Regions from separate parts of the Homo sapiens genome. Here region 1 is linked to region 2. Evidence: promoter capture Hi-C in 16 types of primary human blood cells and fetal thymus (Javierre and others, 2016). All regions are on one chromosome and are shown on one strand. Each heading gives the region's core, a stretch centred on a gene start or on the middle of the fragment in contact. The rest is flanking DNA. Distances are from core to core; before and after follow the strand shown.

Evidence for each region. The method cuts DNA at HindIII sites, captures the fragments that hold promoters and counts their contacts. A CHiCAGO score of 5 or more calls a contact.
Region 1: a contact is called between a fragment that was not itself captured here and the fragment with the promoter of EFCAB6 in region 2, in 1 of 17 cell types (endothelial precursors). The highest score is 5.8, in endothelial precursors.

Annotation. Positions count from the first base shown.
Region 1 is chr22:43,192,735-43,198,597 of GRCh38, forward strand. It overlaps SCUBE1 (signal peptide, CUB domain and EGF like domain containing 1), which reads right to left. Exons shown (of 22, transcript NM_173050.5): 22 at 4,546-5,863. Among named protein-coding and RNA genes, the nearest start is that of TTLL12, 8.5 kb to the left of the region's middle. RefSeq lists enhancers at 4,405-5,337, 5,338-5,863. The HindIII fragment of the contact is 895 bases long and covers 2,332-3,226 here.
Region 2 is chr22:43,810,475-43,816,223 of GRCh38, forward strand. EFCAB6 (EF-hand calcium binding domain 6) reads right to left here and starts at 1,831. Exons shown (of 32, transcript NM_022785.4): 1 at 1,694-1,831. EFCAB6-DT (EFCAB6 divergent transcript) reads left to right here and starts at 1,948. Exons shown (of 2, transcript NR_186822.1): 1 at 1,948-2,510. RefSeq lists a silencer at 1,353-1,594 and enhancers at 1,926-2,195, 2,437-3,238. The HindIII fragment of the contact is 9,229 bases long and covers 1-5,749 here.

The sequences.
Region 1 (5,863 bases), core at 1,529-4,028, 620 kb before region 2:
CCACCTGGATTCAAGCAATTCTCCTGCCTCAGCCTCCCAAGTATCTGGGATTACAGGCATATGCCACCACGTCTGGCTAATTTTTGTATTTTTTGTAGAGACTGGGTTTCGTCATGTTGTGAAGGCTGGTCTTGAACTCCTGGCCTCAAGTGATCCACAGGTGTCGACCTCCCAAAGTGCTGGGATTACAGGTGTGAGCCACTGTGCCTGGGCCATGGCTAATTTTTTAAGTTTTATTTTTAATAGAGATGAGGTTTCGCTAGTTGCCCAGGCTGGTCTCAAATTATTGACCTCACCTGATCCTCCTGCCTTCGCCTCCCAAAATATTAGGATAAGCATGAGCCGTTGTGCCTGGCCGAGGGTTCTAGTTTTCCTGCCAGCACTTGTTATTCCCTGACTCTTGATTATAGTTCTAGTGGTTGTGAAGTGGTATCTTACAGTTTTCATTTGTATTTTCCCTAATGACTAATGATGTCAATCATCTTTTCATGTGCTTATTGGCCAATTGCATATCTTTTTAGGAGAAATGTTTATTCACATTCTTTGTCCTTTTTTTTTTGAGACAGAGTCTTTCTCTGTCGCCCAGGCTGGAGTGCAGTGGCGTGATCTCGGCTCACTGCAAACTCTGCCTCCTGAGTTCAAGTGATTCTCTTGCCTCAGCCTCCCTAGTAGCTGGGATTACAGGTGCCCACGGCTAAATTTTGTATTTTTAGTAGAGATGGGGTTTCACCATTTTGGCCAGGCCGGTCTTGAATTCCTGACCTCAAGCGATATGCTGGCCTTGGCTTGCCAGAGTGCTGGATTACAGGTGTGAGCCACTGTGCCCAGCCTCTTTGTCCATTTTTTTGTTGTTGATATAGAGACAGGGTCTTGCTTTGTTGCCCAGGCTGGTCTTGAACTCCTGGCCTCAAGTGATCCTCTTATCTTGGCCTCCCAAAATGCTGGGATTACAGGCATGAGCCTCTGTGCCTGGCCTTCTTTGTTCTTTTGTTTTTTGTTGTTGTTTTTTTGAGACGTAGTTTCCCTCTTGTCACCCAGGTTGGAGTGCAATGGTGTGATATTGGCTCACTGCAACCTCCTCCTCCTGGGTTCAAGTGATTCTCCTGCCTCAGCTTCCTATGTAGCTGGGATTACAGGTGCATGCCACCACGCCTGGTTAATTTTTTGTATTTTTAGTAGACATGCGGTTTCATCATGTTGGTCAGGCTGGTCTCAAACTCCTGACCTCAGGTGATTCGCCTTCCTTGGCCTCCCAAAATGCTGGGATTACAGCCACTGCTCCCAGCCTGTTCTTTTTTTTTTTTCTTTTCTTTTTTTTTTTTTTTGAGACGGAGTCTTGCTCTGTTACCCAGGCTGGAGTGCAGTGGCCCGATCTCGGCTCACTGCAACCTCCACCTCCTGGATTCACACCATTCTCCTGCCTCAGCCTCCCGAGTAGCTGGGACTACAGGCGCCTGCCTCCACACCCGGCTAGTTTTTTGTATTTTTAGTAGAGACAGGGTTTCACTGTGTTAGCCAAGATGGTCTTGATCTCCTGACCTCGTGATCCGCCCGCCTCGGCCTCCCAAAGTGCTGGGATTACAGGTGTGAGCCACCATGCCTGGCCGCCTGTTCATTTTTAAATTAGGTTATTTGTCTTATTGTTGAGTTGTAAGAGTTCTTTACATATCCTGGATACTGGAGTCTTATCAGATATGTGATTTGTAAAGGTTTTTTTCCTATTCTGTTATCTTTTCACTTTCTTCACAGAGCCCTTTGAAGTACAAGTTTTCAATTTTGGTGAAGTCCAATTTATATATTTTTTCTTTGGTGCCTTATTATTTGTGTGTTACATTTAAGAAGGCATTGCCTGGGTAGAGGGTGTACTGCTCAGGTGATGGGTGCACCAAGGTTTCAGAAATCACCACTAAAGAACTTATTCATGTAACCAAACACCACCTGTTCCCCCAAAACTTAACGGAAATACAAAAATTGAAGTTAAAAAAAAAAGAAGCCATTGCCTAATTCAAGATTCCAAAGACTTATTTATCTGTCTTAGTTTCTAAGAGTTTTATAGTTTTAGCTGTTACATTTCAGTCGTTGATCACTTTGAGTTGATTTTTTGTATAGGAGGTAGGGGTCCAACTTCCTTTCTTTTGCATGTAGATATCCAGTTGTCCTAGTACCATTTGTTGAAGAGACTATTTTTTCCCCATTAAATGGTTTTGGCACTCTCGTTGAAAACCAACTGATGGATGATAAATTTAAGGGTTCATTTCTGGACTCTGAATTCTATTCCATTGATCTGTAGGTCTGTCCTTCTGCTAGTACCACAAAATCTTGATTAATGTAAGCTTGTAGTAAGTTTTAAAAATGAGAAGCGTGAATCCTCCAATTTTGTTCTTTTTCAAGACTGTTTGGCTACTATGGGTCTCTTGCATTTCTATATGAATTTTAGGATTCGCATGTCAGTTTGTGCACGAAGCCAGCCTGGATGTTGATGGGGATTGCACTGAATCTCTAGACCAATTTGGGGAGTACTGTCATCTTGACAATACTGTCTTCCAATCCAAGAGTACAGATCTTCTTTAATTTCTTTTCTCTTTTTTTGAGATGGGGTCTTACTTTGTCACCCAGGGTGGAGTGCAGTGGCTGGATCTCGGCTCACTGCAACCTCTGCCTCCTAGGCTCAAGCGATCCTCTCACCTCGGCCTACCGAGTAGCTACGACCACAGGTGCGTGCCACCATGCCTGGCTAATTTTTTGTATTTTTGGTAGAGACAAGGCTTCTCCATGTTGCACTGGTTGGTCTTGAACTCCTGAGCTCAGGCTCTCCACCCACCTTGGCCTCCCAAAGTGCTGGGATTACAGGGGTGAGCCACTGTGCCCACCGTACAACTGATTTTTATATATTGATCTTATGTTCTGTAACCTTGTGAATTTCATCAGCTCTAGTAATTATTTGTGGATTCCTTAAGTATCTTCCATATAGAAGATCAGGACATGTGAAATGGATAATTTTGTTTCCGTTCCAATCTGGATGCTGTTTATATTTTTTTCCTGCCTAATTGTCCTGGCTAGACCTCCAGCAGAGCGGTGCAGGCACGCATCCTGGTCTTGTTCCTGCACATGTTGCTTTTAAGATATATCCCTTTTGTTGCAGGATGTTAATTAATTGTCATAGCTACATAATATTTAATTACGTGACTATGATGCAGTTTTCCACGAAGAGACTTAGGTTATCTTAAGCTTTTTGCTCTAATAAACATGAGGCTATGAATAGTTTTGTATATTTCCTGGAACATATATGTAAAAAAGAGATTCCCTATTTGTATACAGTAAGTTGATCCATATCCTCTCTGATTCTGATTTTATCACACTTATTATTGTTTTTTTGCCAACCTAGTGCTAACATGGCATATTTTTGTTGTCTCAATTTATATTTCCATTTGTGTGTGTGTGAAAGCAAGTTTATTAGAGAAGTAAAGAAACAAAAGCATGGCTACTCCTAGGCAGAGCAGCCTGTATTTCCATTATTATTAATGAGATTGAGCACCTTTTCAAATGGTAATTGGCTGTCCTGTTTCTTCTTCTGCGAAATGCATGTATATATCTTTTGTCAGTTTTTATTTTTTATTTTTCATTTTTTGTAGAGATGGGGGAGTCTTGCCATGTTGCCCAGGCTGGTCTCGAACTCCTGGACACATGCAATCCTCCTGCTTTGGCTTCCCAAAGTGCTGGGATTATAGGTGTGAGCCACTGCACCTGACCCTAGATTTCTTTTAGAACCTGAGGAAAGCTGTGGGCCATATTCCCAGAGAAATAGAAATGTGTATCTGTACATGCATGTGTACACACACACACACACACACACACACACACACACACAGCATTGCGTGCCGAATTTCAATGAGTCATAGATTCCCTGAGGCTCACTGTGACCATGACTTCCAGATTAAAGCCCCAGTGTCAAAGAACAACTCTTGGCCGGACACGGTGGCTCACGCCTGTAATCCCAGAACTTTGGGAGGCTGAGGCGGGCGGATCACGAGGTCAGAGATCGAGACCATCCTGGCTAACACGGAGAAACTCCGTCTCTACTAAAAATACAAAAAATTAGCCAGGCGTGGTGGCGGGCGCCTGTAGTCCCAGCTACCCGGGAGGCTGAGGAAGGAGAATGGCGTGAGCTCAGGAGGCGGAGCTTGCAGTGAGCCGAGATCACGCCACTACTCTAGCCTGGGCAACAGTGAGACTCTTGTCTGAAAAAAAAAAAAACAAAAACAAAACTCTCATTTCATCATGAGTTATGCGGGGAAATGGGATTTGAAATATGGACATTTTGCCTTCTGCCAGTTAGAAGCATGTCTGTTCCCTAAATGTGGGCGCCCCCTGCGTCTGTACGTAGATCTCCACCTCGCTGCTTTATTTTCCAGAGGTTACTGTAGCTCCTTACTTTCAGTCCTCAATAGCGTCATGAAATTTCTTCCATTATTTTTTCTTTTCTGGATTCCAGTTAGCATTTCCCCCCAACTCATGACTTCTGCTGAATAAGAGAAAAGAGCAATATTTAGGTTCATTTCCTGTTTATTATTAAAGTGATTTTCACAAATGTTTCATTACATGCATATGGGGGACATGATGGATAAAACAAAACTGAATATTTGTGGCAACTAAAAGGAAGATGTGGTTATGTTGGTATTTGCCACTTGCAGGCAGAGTCGTTGCCAAGCGTCTGGACAATACAGTGCCCTCACAGGAGCCAGAAGTGAAGTCTGCGGGCCGCTAGCACAGCGCCCTGGTGTCCTGTTCCCCGAGCAATGTGGCCTGCGTCTGCTCGGCATGTTGGAGGTTCTGATCTCAGCGGAGTAAGACACCCGGCATCGGTCAGCTCCCTCTTCCTCCTCCTGCTTTCTGCCACCCATCTGCCGAGGGCACTGGGCACTCTCTTACTTGCATCTCTGCAGGGCTGTGCCGGGGCCTCCCCAAGAGCAGTGGGGACACTCGGCAAGGGCACTTGAGCCTCTGGCTGTGTCTGCTCACGTCGGCACAGTGAGTACCCTGTCCGCCTGGTAGGGAAGGCAGAAGCTGTCTTTTCTCCGAACGAGTTTTTCGTGCTTGTGAAGGAGGGAAGGAATGTCACTGAAGTCACCCTGGCCCGGGATCCTCCTGTTCTCTCCCCTCCCTGCAGCCTTCTCTCTGTCTCTGGACTCCACCGCCAGGGCTGACCTGGCCCAGTTTCCAATCTGTAAGCTTCAGATTGATCAACGTTTTAGAGACATTTCCTACCCTTGGATTAGATGGGCTTGAGTTTGATTCCCAAATCCAGGGACTACCAACTCTTTGCCTTGGGCATGTCCTGTGGTCTCCCAGAGCCTTCATTTCCACATCTGAAGAATGGTCTTAACCCCACCATCTACATGGGGCTGGGGGGATGGAATGTGTGGATATTAGAGGGTTGAGCCCAGAGCCTGGCACCCAGTGGGCACTGAGTGAGCGTCAGCTTCCCCACCTTTCCCTTCTTCCTGTTGGGGCTTGGGGGGTGCAGACAATTCCAGGGGGCTCACTCAGGGGCTCTGAGTGGCATGGTGCAGCAGGGGACTGGAGAGGCCTTGAGGCCATCGCAGCAGATGCTGGGAGGGCACGCAGGCCATGCCTGTGTTGTCTGGGCTTCAAGGATGCTTTGCCCACACCTGATGTCCTTTCCAAGAGCAAGGCAGGTGGGATCAGGCCAACCCCAGCTCTGCCTGCCCAGGACTTACTCCTGGAAGGGCCAGGGATCTGTGGGTGCTGTGGGGGCAGAGGCAGCCGCGGTAGAATAGGAGGCGCTCTCTGCTCTCTCTCCACATCCTCACTCCACCCCTCATTACATCCTCTGCCCTTGGCC
Region 2 (5,749 bases), core at 581-3,080:
AAACCTGTCTCAGTTGTTAACAACTGCCTTGTTAACAACCAGTGGCCTCTCACCAGATTCCTGATCTGGGCAGGCACCAGGCTACTAAACATCCTCATGGAGCTGGTTCTGTCTCCAGGTGCCAGTCAGCTGCAGAGATCAGAGCATGGGTGCTATAGAGATCTCTGTACAAGGGGAAGAGGTAGATAGCTGGAACAGGGCAGTTTTTCCCTGGAGAGCGAAATTTACAGTCTCAGGTAAGCACTTCTTGATAAATATCTATGATCACCTATCATGAACCAAGCATTAAAATAAGCATAGAGGAAAAAGGGAAAGCACAGATAACTAAAATAAAATCCTCATCCTCAAAGGATCTTGCAATAAGACTGGATAGGAGGCAAATATCTTCACATATAATCAAAGGGGCCATTTCTGACTCACTTTCATATCCCCAGAACTTAGCCAAGTAAACGTTTGCTGAATTGAAGGCAATGGATAAAAGACATGAACTGTAGTGTATGAAAGTAGAATTGATTTACAGCATTTCTGTTAAGGCCACCCATTTAGGAACACATATTAAATTAGGCCAAGGCGGGCGGATGGATCACTTGAGGTCAGGAGTTTGAAACCAACCTGGCCAACATGGTGAAATCCCGTCTGTACTAAAAATACAAAAATTAGCTGGGCGTGGTGGCAGGCGCCTGTAATCCCAGCTACTTGGGACACCGAGGCACGAGAATCGCTTGAACCCGGGAGGTGGAGGTTGCAGTGAGCTGGGATCGCTGCACTCCAGCCTGGGTGACAGAGGAAGACTCCATCAGGAAAGAAAAGGAGAGGCGAGGGGAGGGAAGGGGAGGGGAGCGGAGGGGAAGGGGAGGGGAGGAGAGAGGAGGGGAGGAAGGGAAGAAAGGGGAAGGGAAGGGAGGGGAGGGGAGGGAGAAAAGAAAAGAAAAGAAAAAAGAAAAGAAAAGAAGAGTCCTCTTAACAGGGGCAAGACATCCTGAAAGGCAAAGATTTGGAGAGAAAGGAAGGGAGTAGAGAGAGGGGTGATTTGGACAACCTTCAAGTAAGCCCTATACAGATGTATACCTCACAAAGTGCTTCCAAACAAAATTTCTGAGGGAGGCAGGGGTAATTATGTGCAGGCTGTGGGAGAAGAGTGTAAAAGAGCAGAGATTTTGCCGTGATACAGAAATGAGTTTGAATTCTGGCTCAGAAACTTCCTAAGATAGTTGTGTGACTTTGGAAAAGCCCCTTCACCCCACAGGTTTCAAGTCCTCGTCTGTCTACAGGAGGGAGTCAATCATGACATTCACAAGACTGCTGTGGGCACAAATGAAATCAGGGGCATGAGACATGTTGTAAACTGGAGAGATTTAGGGCGTTTCCACACACATTTCCCAGCTGATTCTCACAGAGAGGCAGGGAAGAAGACGTCACCACCGTCAGCGTTGTTTATCGTTCTTCTCCACATATCAGGTAAGCTACGGGAACAGGGGCCCTACTGTTCCCCACAGGGCCCCAGGGCCTACAACATGCCTGGCACAAGCAGACGCGCCATGAACACCTGAATAAACGAATCACCACCCCTTCGTCCCTGGGGGTGGGCAGCAGCGCCGGCCTTCTCAGGGCAGTGAGACCCACGGAGCTGCCCGCCCGCCCGGCCCCTCCTCGGCCTGTCGCACGCGCGTGGCCACCCCGAATACAGCCTTACCGGGAACCCCTCCTCGATTCTCCGCCTAGCTGGGCCGGCACCCGCGTGCGCGGACCCCAAGCCGCGGGGTCTCAGAGGGGCTGCCCATTCGGCGTCTCTAGGACGCTGTTGCCCGAGAGACGACGGCAGTCGCTGACTGGAGAATGAGCCTACGCGCCTGGCAAGAAGCTGAGCTGTGATTGGTCAATTGGAGATAAACGAGGAGGGGGCGGGGCCAGGTCAGTCCCGCGCCTCCGCTCCCGGAAGAAATTTCCGCCGGAAGTCCCGTTCTCTGGGGAGCGGGAACCCTGGCGACCCGTGTCATGGGAGCGGGTTTCTGTTACGTGGGCTTTAGCGCGAGCTGGGCGGTCGGCCCGGTCCCACCGAACTGCATAGGGCCGTGTAGCCGGGGGAAGTCAGCCCCCTGCTCTGAGAAGCAGACTCTGCATCTGTAAAAGGCTAAGCGTGCCCACTGGGGCCTGTGGTCAGGATTGGCTGCAGTGAGGTCCGCAAAGCCCCTACCGCATCCTGCGCCTTCGTTAGGGTGAGCAGTCATGGGGACTCGCATTGTGCCACCACGTAGCGGGTCTCACTGGGTCCGCTTGTCTGCTCGAGGAGACAGCCGGTGAGGACGGGAGCTGGCCTGCTTTGCCCAGGCTGTAACCTCAGCCTCCGCCCATACCCACAGTAAGCATCCATTCCATTGATATTCGCTAAATGAGTGAATTATTACTAAGACAGAGGGCCGAGTGGAAGCGCCATAAATCACGTGAGTGAATGTAATTGTTGTCGCTGACCCTATGGAGCACTTCCCTTGCCAGGCACTCACCCATCCTAGGTATGTACTTTACATGTAATTGTCATCTTCATTTGTCTTCACAACAACCCTGTGAGGTGGGTGCTGTGGTTACTCCCATTTTACAGATAGGTAACTGAGGCACACAGAGCATTTTGTTCAAGGACACACTGCCAGTCAGGGGTAGGAGCAGAATGAGAACCTATGGAGCTTGCTCTTAGGCACCCTGCCACACTGCTCACTGTGGGAGAGAAGCAGCCAGGCAGACGTGTGCAGCTTGGAATTCCTTGCACACATGGCTGCGGCAGGTCAATTAGGTGCCCTGGTGTGTGCTGCAAAGATGGATACTATGCGGTCCCTGCTGGGCACTCTGACTACTTCACTGGGCAGCTAGTTTTCCTGTTCACCAAGAGAATTCTTTCCCATGGCTTGTCTCAGACCTCCCGCACTCACTACTTCCTCACCGGACTCAATGACCATGGGTCTTATCCCATTGAGAAAATGTAATGCATAAGAATGGAATGCACTCCTTCACAATCACTTTGGCATTCATCGCCTCTTTTCCTCTTGCCCCAAAAGAGGGTCTCTTACAGAGGCCAGTCCCTCTAACTGTGTCCTGGATCCCTCCCCATTTGCCTTCTTTATTATAGGCAGTGCTCTAAGTGTGGTCTGGGAATCCCTGGGGATCCTGAGACCCTTTCAGACTGTCCATGGGGCCAAAAAATACTTTCATAACACTTAAGACTTTACTTGCTTTTTCATTGTTTTTCTCTCATAAGTATATGGGGGGATTTTCCAGAAGCTACATGATGTGTGATATTGCAACAAATTGAATGCAAAAGAAGGTAAGAGATCCAGCGGTCTTGTACTAAGCCAGATGTTAAAGAGATCTGCAAAAATAGAAAACTGCCCCTCTTTTCACTTTTTTGGAAAGTGTAATTTTTCATTAGAGAACGTTAACATCTAATGGGTTTATTATTTTTAATGAGTTAATAAATTTTTTATCAATTGTATTTTCTAACATGGTAAATATTGATAGATATAAACATAAATAAAAGTTTTTTGGGATCCTCAATACTTTTTAAGAGTGTGAATGGATCCTGAGGCCAAAAAGTTTGGTCCTGAGATCAAAAGGGCTTCAGTTATTCCCTCTCTCATGATAGCCAAGAGTCTCATTCTTTCTCTTTCTCTCTTTCCCTCCTTCTTGGAACATGCTCTAGTATCTCACATCTTTAAAAAAAAAATAGATGATCTTCTGGTTTCCACCCCATTTCTCTGCTCCTCTTTAACCTGCTTCTCAGTAGAGCTGTCTATACATGCTGTCTTTCAGTTACCAAATTTCACAGAAGCGTGACTCTCATTGCCTGGTAACTGGCATTCTCACAAATACTTCTTCTCTACTTGGCCGTACATTACTTGACCTCTCAGTAGCATTCAGCCCAGTTGATCACTCCTTTCTGCCTGAAATACTTCAGGCTTCTCTAATACCACACCAACTACTCAATTCTTGGGCCCCACTGGTGACTTCCCTCCTCTGTGTGGCCTTTGGATGTTAGGGCCCCTCTGACCCTGTCGTAGGTCCTGCTGTTATGCTTCTCACCAGCCTTGACCCCTCTACTGGAATGTACTGGAGATCACTCAGACTTAAGCCATCCATATTGCCCTTGATCCACTCACCTCCCTCACTCACCTATTACTTTTTTTTTTTTTTCGAGACGGAGTCTTGCTCTGTCGCCTAGACTGGAGTGCAATGGTGCGATCTCGACTCAGTGCAACCTCCACCTCCCAGGTTTCAGCAATTCTCTGCCTCAGCCTCCCGAGTAGCTGGGATTACAGGCGTGAGCCACCATGCCCAGCTGATTTTTGTATTTTTAGTAGAGACAGGGTTTCACCATGTTGGCCAGGCTCGTCTTGAACTCCTGACCTCGTGATCCGCCTGCCTCGGCCTCCCAAAGTGCTGGGATTACAGGTGTGAGCTACTGTGCCTGCCCGCACTCACCTATTCCAAAGCAATGCTCAAACTAGGAAGCCTTGTTGTTACCCTCAATGATCACTACCTCATACCCCATATCTAGTGCTTCAGCAAGTCTTGTCGATTCTAACACCAGAATACGTACATGGTAGCAATCTCATCCATTCTCTCCAAGTTCCCCTGCACTACCTTGCCTTAAAAGCCTTCTTATGCTAAAAATAAAAATCTTTAAAACAGCATGCAGGGCCACTGGGACCATCCTACAACCTCAACCTCATTCTCCCCCCAGGATCGCTATGGTCACAAAGCCCAGAAGCCAGCTTGAATGGGGCTCCTGCTGGCCAGAATAATGAAGGACAGTAAAAGAAATAGGAGTCATGAGTCCAGGCCCAGGAGCGATGGACAGATAGAATAAATGCAGGACAAGGGAGGGCACGTGCTTGCAGTAGCAGGCCTAGGGACAAATGGTCATGCAGGAGGACTAGAGCTGAAAAGCCATCATGTTGCAACCACTGAGTGAAGATTGATTCAGGCAAGGATCATTCACGGGTGCTTCATCTCGGGGTTCTTTGGATGGGGAGCAGGATATTTGCATTGTTTTAAAGGATAGTCCCACAGATCACTTATTACTTACAGGAGAAAAAGTAGTCATAATACAAAAGAAAAATGGACAATGCTTGGATACCATAATAAAAATTAACACTACCAACAAGGAGCATGGACATTGTGTGGCTTCAGATGTAATGTGAAGGACAACCTCCGTTGAAAAGGGCAACTGCTGTAGTATTCTAATCTGGAATGCATCACCTAATCCTATCATAAGAAGACATTAGGAAAAAAAAAATAAAGATAATTCCATTTTTTTAATGGTTTTTGGTGTTTTGTTTGTTTGTTTGTGACAGAGTCTCGCTGTGTTGCCCAGGCTGGAGTGTAGTGATGCGATCTCAGCTCACTGCACCCTCCACCTCCTGGGTTCAAGCGATGCTGCTGCCTCAGCCTCCCAAGTAGCTGGGATTACGGGCACACACCACCAAGCCCAGCTAATTTTTGTATTTTTAGTAGAGATAGGGTTTCACCATGTTGGCCAGGCTGGTCTTGAACTCCTGATCTCAAGTGATCTGCCTGCCTCAGCCTTCCAAAGTGCTGGGATTACAGGCATGAGCCACTGTGCCCAGCCTGTAACTTACTTTCAAATGCTTCTGAAAAAATTATGTATTGATAGATAGCAAATAATAAAGCAATTGGGGCAAAACGTGCACAGTTTAAGTGGATCTGAGAAAGGGAGTTGTATTAGATAGGGCTGCGGTAA